2 separate regions of the Homo sapiens genome follow, and region 2 is linked to region 1. Evidence: promoter capture Hi-C in human tissues and cell types (Jung and others, 2019). All regions are on one chromosome and are shown on one strand. The core of a region is centred on a gene start or on the middle of the fragment in contact, and the rest is flanking DNA. Distances in the headings are between cores, read along the strand shown. Region 1 holds the start of ADCK2 (aarF domain containing kinase 2). Region 2 overlaps DENND11 (DENN domain containing 11).

Region 1 (4,717 bases), core at 978-3,477:
TCTTGGGTTCAAGCAATTCTCATGCCTCAGCTTCCTGAGTAGCTGGGATTACAGGCATGCAGCACCACGCCCAGCTAATTTTTGTATTTTCAGTAGAGACAGGGTTACACCATGTTGGCCAGGCTGATCTCGAACTCCTGGCCTCAAGTGATCCACCTGCCTGAGCCTCCCAAAGTCCTAGGATTACACACATGAGCCACCACGCCCGGCCAGAACTTTGATATAAGCAAAAAATTAATTTGTTGCATTAAGCCACTGAGATTTGGATGTTCTTTATCAGCTAGTGTTACCAGCTCTAACACATCACATGAGTTATGACATACCAGAAAATTATTCATTCAACATTTACTAAGTAGCAGCTAATGGCAAGAACTATGTTAGGTGCTATTTACAGCTGAGGGGAGGAGAACTCACCTGTTGGACCATCAGCTTCTCAAATTCCTCCACAATCTCAGGCAAGCTAAGCCACTTGATGCCTGGCAAAACTCCCAGGACTCGGCTGCCAATCTTCATCAGCAGCAGGTCCATATGCACCTGAGCGAGCAGGCCAGGGTGCAACACCTGTCAGAAAGAGGAACCGTGAGACAGGAGAAACCTGCTGGACACATTTTACCCAGCCAGGGCTGGGTCCCACCATCCAAGCAAGAGCCAGGTGGCTTCTTATCAAAGAAAAGAGGATGTGGTCCCGACACCCAAGCAGTTAGTTCACTCCAGACTCAGTTCATTTTCCTCTATCAGACTATTCACACCGCCACTTCAAGCCAATAAATGAAACAGCTTGCATGAAATAAGCACTCAGATATTGGTCAGGCAAATAGAAATAAACGTGGGGGCGATTTGCATGGCGGTTGTTTCTGATCTGGGATAGCTCAGTGGGTAGGTGAGCTGTGAGCTCTCACAACACTTACTTTCACTGCCACGGAGATGAGGTTGGTGGCCTCAGGTTGGTGGCCAGGGACCTGAGCCCGAGACACCCCTGCATTTGATCCAACCAGGTCAGCTTTAGGGAGGAGCAGCCTTTCTAGAAACGACTGGTCTGCGAGATTTTCTGGAGGTTTCCGGCCATTTCCAAGGTATCCAAAGAGCTCTCTCAGCCCACCGACTGCCCCAGTATGTGAGAAGGGCGGCAGACAGGAGGCCCTGCCAAGTCTCTGGACGCTGTCAGTCTCCAGGAAGGCAGTGTTGGCGTATGCTTTGTACACCTGGGCCACGCAGCCTGAGCCCACAGGTTCCCGGTTCTCAAAAGAGAGGATGCTCCCCCAGTCATCCCCAAAAGCCTGCCGAAGGAAGCGCTCAGTGTGAGTCCACGGGTGGGGCGTCACTCGGACATGCAGCTTGGAAAATTGGGCACAGAAAGCCTCCGAAAACAGATCGCGCCGGGTGCTGGCCCACTGGCCCAGTTTGATGTAGGTTGGGCCTGAGGTCTCGGTGGCTTTCAGAAGCAGGTGGAGCCAGAGGGTGGAGACGCTGGGAGCCAGGTAGGTGAGGGGGTAGAGGAGTAGGAGGGGGAAGAATTTCACCAACAGAGCGCCGGCGCGAAGCCAGAGGCGGAGATGCAGGAAGACGCCGCCCAGAGGTCCCGCTCGGGGGAGGCTCTCCGCGGGCCCCGCGCCAGCCGCCCCGCTGCAGCGGACCCTTCGCCGACTCAGAACGTCAGGGGCCCCCTCACCCACGTCCCCGCACAGGGAGACGACCTTGGGCAAAGTGCCCAGCAGAAGCCAGCAGAGCCTGGCATCGCGAGGGCACTCGGAGGGCCTCAGGAGGCTGAGTCCCTGTCTGAGCTCGAAGCACCTCAGGTGCGACAGGCAAACCCTGACGGAGACGCGCCAGGGCGCCACCATCCTCCCGAGGCCCGCGGCCCAGGCGGCCCGCCCTCCACTTCAGAGGCGCCCGCTCAGGCGAGGCTGCGGTGAAGCCGAAGCCCGGCCCTGACCCCGCGGACGGAGCTGCCCATCTGGGCCGGATCCGCGCCCCGCTCCCTCCAGCACCTCGCCGGGCCTCAGGCCGGAGGCCCGCGCCCCGCCCGACACCCGCCGCGCCGCGCCGCGCCGCGCGGAAGGGGCTGTCAGACGGCACCAACTGCGGAACGGGAGGAGCCAGGACCCACGCGAAGCCAGGCCCCGGGCGCCCGCGACCTGAGCGAGGGGGCCGCGCGGGCGGAGGCAGGGGCCGGGCAGCCGCAGGGTCACCGTGCGCCCAGGGGCCAGTATGAGATCGCTGGGGTGGCGGGCACCAGCCCAGGGCGCGGGCGCAGGCGGGGGCCGGGAGGGCGGGGCGGAGCGTGGAGGGCGGGCGGAGCGTCGGGGGCGGAGCGTCGGGGGCGGGCGGGAGTGCAGGTGCAGGGAACCGAGGCACCGAGGGCTGTGGTGGAGCGGAGGGGCGCGGGAGATGGATGGGACGGGTTCGGCCACTAGGTTGAAACCGCCATTGCAAAATTATAACAGATAATGAAAGAGATCTGACCTAACCAACTCCATCTTGCTTCTAACCTCCAAGCTGTCCTTGTTCATTCCTGGGCGTTGGCTGAACTAACTTTGGGAGGAACTTAGTTTATACTTTATAGTTTAAAACAAAGATGATAACAGCCCTTTCTGAAAACAAACCTCCTTCTTGCCTGGGGAATAGACTGTCTTTGTAGGACTAACAAATTAACCAAAAGATTAGAAAGTATGATTTAGGAGTCAGGCAGCAAGGCTACAGTATTCTGACCCTCCCTAAACTGCTAATAAGATCAGTGCTCAAGATATTTTGCAGACCCTGCACTTGATGGATCAACTGACACCTACCAGATCGATAAACCAGGTCATCTGATCTTAGGCCCCCACTCCGGAACTAACTCAGCACAAGAGGACAGCTTCAGTTCCCTAAGATTTCACCTCCGACCCAACCAATCAGCACTCTCGACTCACTGGCCTTCCCCCACCCACCAAGTTGTCCTTAAAAACTCTGCCCAGTGTCCCGCGCAGCCTGATCTGTGTGAATTACTCCTTCTCTATTGCAATGCCCCTGTCTTGATAAATCGGCTCTGTCTAGGCAGCAGGCAAGGTGAACCCGCTGGGCTGTTACAGGGTGGCCGGTGGGGGCAGAGGGCTGGGTGCTGGGCGGTGAGGGTCGGAGGGAGCAGAGGGTCGGTGGCAGAGGCCCGGGCAGCCAGGGTCCCTTGACCCGCCCCTTAAAGAGGACGGCGACCCCAGGCCAAGACCACCCTGCCCTTGAGTCCTGGGTCCTGGGTAGCAAAACGCAAAGGCACCCTCTATGTCCCCCTCCCCATGTCTATCTTCCCACTGACTTCTTCGTATCTTTCATTATTCCAAAGAGCATGGCTGAAAAGTATGAAGGCAGGTTCTGAACACAGGTCCGCTTTTCAGCGGGGGTTGGGTAGGGGGGTGGTGTTGGATGGGGGTAACTGGGCTGCAGGAGTAGGAACTGGATGCTGTGTCCTCGGCTGCATTAATTCGGCAATTGTGTTGGACCTTGGGGAAAGGCTCCGGAAAGGCCATATTCATTCATTCAATAATACTCACTGAGCCCAATAAATATTTCTTGAGCCCAATCTCATATTTGTCGAGGCTCAATAATATGTACTGATCAAGCTAGGTCATGTGCTGGACCCTGGGAAAGCGGACACAAATATCCTGCCCTTACTGGCTGAATACGTAATGAGGGGGACCCAACATGGGAACATATAAATGTGCAATTTCAATTTTTTTTAAAAAAACACCCATGATAAGAAATCAAAATGTGCAGTTTCAAAGTGTGGCAAAGCCATGCAAGAAATGACCGGGCACGGTGGCTCACACCTGTAATCCCAGCACTTTGGGAGGCCGAGGCGGGGGGATCACTTGAGGTCAGGCATTCGAGACCAGCCTGGCCAATGTGGTAAAATCCCATCTCTACTAAAAATACAAAAATTAGCTGGGTGTGATGGTGCATGCCTGTAGTCCCAGATTATTCAGGAGGCTGAGGCAGGAGAATGGCTTGAACCCAGGAGGCAGAGGTTGCAGTGAGCCAGGATGGCACCACTGCACTCCAGCCTGGGCGACAGAGGGAGACTCTGTCAAAAAAAAAAAAAAAAAAAAGCCATGAAAAAAAAAAGATTACCAGAGGCACACATAGCATGCAACTACCCTGGAGAGGAAGGGAAGGCCAGAGAAAGCCTTAGAGGAGGGGGCCAAATAAAGCCCTAAACATAGGAAGGAGTTTGGTATGAGGTTTGGCAGGTGGGGATGTTGTATAACCTCGAAGAACCAAAGGGAAGTCAGGTGGCCCTGTGACCAAGGGGAGAGGGGTGGAGCTTGGAAATCAGCCCACAGAGCCATTGAAGGGTCCCATGGTACTGCTTCTACAACCATCTTCTCTGTCCTTTGAGATTTTTGCAGCTGCCTGCCTTGAGGGACCACAGTCACCTCTACATATAGACAGGCTTTATCCCCAAGTGAGAGGCTTCCACAGAAATCTGCCCAAGGGTGGGTCTGTGGGCATCATAAGTGGAAGGGGCGCTAAGGAAAGAGAAGCAAGAACAGGCCTATGCACCCGGTTCCCACTGCTGGAAGTGTGACAGCCATCCCTTAAGGAGGTTCCCAAACTGTGGGACCTAGGCTACAGACAGGAATGCGGGGGAGGGTGACCAGTGGCTCCTCTTGCCTTGATAACTAACAATCCACTCCCCAGAAGTCAAACCTACCACCACTAGCTTGCAATAGCACCAGCCATTAAT
Region 2 (4,237 bases), core at 838-3,337, 1.0 Mb before region 1:
TGTAAAGTGAATGCATTGGAATTCAGCCATGGATTGGCATATAGCTGACTTTAAATCAGCAGGATTAGCTTCTTCCTGACTCAGGATTCTTTATCCTGATGCTTTTCTCTTTGCTTTGGATGTGCTCTCAGACTAGGTGGTTTTAAGACTGTTTCAAACCATGTAAGACCCAAAGTCAACTCACCTGGGTTATTTACTTTTCTGATGTTAGGGTCTGAACCAAATACTCTTTGGAGGTTTCCACCTGTGGGATCTGATGGCCCCTTTAGGTGGTTATGTGAAGGGAATGTATTGTTGGGACCTAGAATACTCTTTGATTCATGCCTTTATTCCTGAAACAGGATTTGTTTTGACTTCCTGATTACAATCAGGGCATATGTATACACAGATGGGAAGAGAACCGTGGAAAGAGTAAAACCTCAGGCACGTGCTGGGGTGGGAGTTCCACTCCTGAGGTCAGAGGAGCTGGAAGAGGATCTCCAGCTGAGGCAGTCTCTGGATAGGAAATGAAGAGCTCAGGAGGAAGTGCTTGCTTGGGAACCATCTAACAGAGGAGGAAGAAGAAATTCACATATTTCCTATTAAAAAGAGATTGTTTTGGTTCAAGATCATTGCTTTCTCTATTTTAAATATTTTGAGGTGAACTTTCTAGCAGACAGCAGTTACTGCAGTTAATGTCCAATCTCCCTAGGAAATAGTGATGAATTTTAAGACAGCTGGGGGTTTGGTCATTTCTCATTTAAACAGAACTAGTTTTGGAAGACAGAGGCAGTGGTCAACCTAGATAGGACAGCCTACCTCTGGCCTAGCCCATGGGCTTATAAAACCCCAGCTCTGGGAGGCCCTGGTGCACAGAGCTGTCAGGCTGACCTTTGGAGCTGTGAAGTGGCAGGGTTCAGACCATCTGTACATCCTCAGCCAGGCGCGACACTGACCTTCTGGCTTTGCCTGGGTAACTGAGCTGCCAGCCTCGTAGTCGGTTAGTCCAAGTTCCTTTAAACAGAGACATATTTGCCTTTGCATGAGCTCAGCACCTGGCAGGCACCGTGCTGCCAAGTTGTGCTCCACCAATATTTGTTCAATGACCAGCTGAATGTACACAATGCATATTGCCACATTTGTGCCTCCCGTGGTCATGTGAATCCCTCCTCAGAAGTTGTCTTTGCAGTAGAGGCTAGGAAGTGCCTGTAAGTACCTGTAATAGGTCCAAGTCATGGTCCAAGATGAGAAAGGACACAGAGATGGAAAGAGAGCAAGTTAGGGGAGAAAAAGGCACTTGTCACTGGCACCTCCTCTCTTTGATGGACTAGCCATGAGATGACCTCTTTTGTTGAATCTTCCAGGCCCCAGCTCCCTGGCTGAGTTCTTAATACAGTGAGGATATCTGGAAAACCTAAAAGCATGGAATGTGAAGACTGAGCCTGGGATAAGTAGCAGTCAGGATGAGTTTCTTTCTGGTATTAAATGGCATCCCATAAGGATTACTAATTATGCAAAATCACTTTCCATTAAGTCTCCTCAAATTCCATATGTAAGCTGGTTTTCATTTGTAATGTTTCTGTAGGATAACTTCAAGCCCTGATAGCGCTTCATTCCCTATTAGTGTGGTGCATTGCCTCAATTATTTTTGGCTTTTGCAAAGTCCTTTATGCTCTCCTTTTTTTCACATTGCTATTATTTCAATTATTTTCCCCAATTTGTAAGTTGAAATGTTTTGAAAAGTTGAAAGAATAGTGCAGTGAAAACCTGTATGTCTTTCACTTAGAGTCCCCGTTTATTGACATTTTGCCCCATTTGCTTTATTCTTACATAGTCATATCCCCTATAACATGAAATATATGTTCCAAAAATCACTGTGCGGCAAAAAAAAATCATGAAGTAAAAATCACAGGGCTTATGAGAAAAACTTTGTCAGTGGCACATTTTTTTTAAAAAAAAGATAGGAACCTACCAAAAACTATAGGACAGTTTTGCATATGATAAATGGTTAAGAAATACATACTTAGTAAATGTGGAACTGTACCTTTAAAAGACCTGGTGTTTGTATCTGGAGGTGAGTGCTGAAAGGATTGAGCCTGTGAATTACTATGTGTGGTGGGAGGGGGGCTGTCTGAAATCAGAGGCAAAACTGTGACGCTAGAGGTGCATGGCATGGCCCAGAACGAGGTGACCTGAGGTAGCAGGAGAAGCTTAAGGTGGGTGTGTTTTGTATATTCCGACATGGCTTGATTCAGCTGGGTGTAGTTTTCCACATTGACTTTGTGTTTTTCATGATTGAAATCACACATAAGCAAATGTCAAATTCCCTAATACATTGATTGCTTTGGAACAGATTCAACAAGCATTATAGCAGAACTGACTGTGTGTGGAGATATAAATAGACTTTTCTTTTTTTTGCTGAACTATTTGAAAGTAAGTTGTGGATGTCATGGCATTTCATTTCTAAATTTTTCAGTATGGGCTGGGCGTGAATACATATACTAACGCCTGTAATACCAACACTTTGGAAGACAGAGGTGGAAGGATTTCTTGAGGCCAGGAGTTCAAGACCAGCCTGGGCAACATGGCGAGACCTCATCTCTATAAAAATTTAAAAAATTAGCCCGGCATGGTGGCGCATACCTGTAGTCCCAGCTGTTTGGGAGGTTGAGATGGGCGGATCATTTGAGCCCTGGAGTTAGAGGTTATAGTGAGCTATGATTGGGCCACTGCACTCCAGCCTGGGCAATCCTGTCTCTTAATAAAATAAAATAAAATACTTCAGTATAAATCTCCTAAGAATAAGGCTATTTTTCTACATCACCATAGTATCATTGCCACTCTTAGGGCAGTTAATTTAGGTTAATTCATCAATTAGGTTTTTTTAAATAATTAATGTATTTTATTTTTTAGAGCAATTTTAGTTTTACAGAAAAATTGAGCAGAAAGTACAGAGTTCCCATATACTACCTCCCCCTCACTCATACACATATAATTTCCCTTTATTAACATCTTTCATTAGTGTGGTATATTTGTTATAATTGATGAACTAATATTGATACATTATTGTTTATTTAAATCCATAGTTTGCATTAAGGTTCACTGTTGTACAGTTCAATGGGTTTTGAAACATGCACGATGTTATGTATCCACCATAACAGTATCATACAGAATAGTTTCACTGCCCTAAAGATCCTATGCTTGACCTATTCATCCCTCCCTTCCTATTGATCTTTTTATTGTCTCTATAATTTTGCCTTTCCCAGAATGTCACATAGTTGAAATCATATAGTATGTAGCCTTTTCAGGCTGGCTTCTCTTATTTAGCTACATGCATTTAAAGTTCCTCCATGTCTCTTCATGGCTTGATAGCTCATTTTTCTGTATTGCTATAGAGTATTTCCTTGTATGGATATCTCACGTTTTATTTATCCATTCACCTATGAAGGACATCATGGTTGTTTTCCAGTTTTGGGCCATTGTGAATAAAGCTGCTGCAAACATCTGTGTGCAGGTTTTGTGTGGATGTAAGTTTTCAGCTCATTTGGATAAATACAAAGGTGCATCGTTGCTGGGTCATTTGATAATAACATGTTAGTTTTGTAAAAAACTGCCAAACTGTCTTTCAAAGTGGTTGTGCCATTTTATATTCCCACCAGCAATGAATTCCTGCTGTCCCACATCCTCATCAGCATTTGGTGTTTTGAATGTTAGCCATTCTGATATGTGTGTCATGATATCTCATTGTTATTTTAATTTGCAATTGCGTAATGAGCATATGAAAAAATAGTCAACATCATGTCATTTGCCATCTGTGTATCTTCCTTGATCAGTTGTCTGTTCAGATCTTTTACCCTTTTAAAAAGTTGGATTGTTTTCTTATTGTTGAGTTTTATGAATTCTTCGTATATTTTAGATAACAGTCCTTTATCAGATATGTGTTTTGCAAATATCTTCTCTCAGTCTGTGGCTTGTCTTTTCGTTCCCTTAATAGTGTCTCTCATAGATCAGAAGTTTTAAATTTTAATGAAGTCCAATATATCCATTTTTCCTTCATGAATTGTGCTGTTAGTATTATATCTAGAAACTCATTGCTAAACCCAAAGTCACCCAGATTTTTCTCCTGTGTTATCTTCTAGAAATTTTATAATTCTGCATTTTACATTTTGGTTTACATATTTTAAAAAATTATTATTATTTTAGAGACAGGGTCTCACTCTTTTGCCTGGGTTGGGATGCAGTGGAGTGAGCACAGCTC

What was found. Contacts are between HindIII fragments. The study calls those that stand out against the background at their distance.
Region 2: a fragment that was not itself captured here is called in contact with the fragment with the promoter of ADCK2 in region 1 in 1 of the 25 tissues and cell types used here (dorsolateral prefrontal cortex).

Annotation. Positions count from the first base shown.
Region 1 is chr7:140,670,455-140,675,171 of GRCh38, reverse strand. ADCK2 (aarF domain containing kinase 2) reads right to left here and starts at 2,227. Exons shown (of 8, transcript NM_052853.4): 1 at 909-2,227; 2 at 415-561. The coding sequence starts at 1,841. RefSeq lists a silencer at 1,833-2,292. The HindIII fragment of the contact is 30,105 bases long and covers 1-4,717 here.
Region 2 is chr7:141,692,789-141,697,025 of GRCh38, reverse strand. The region is part of intron 1 of DENND11 (DENN domain containing 11); the gene reads left to right. Among named protein-coding and RNA genes, the nearest start is that of DENND11, 7.3 kb to the left of the region's middle. The HindIII fragment of the contact is 6,875 bases long and covers 1-4,237 here.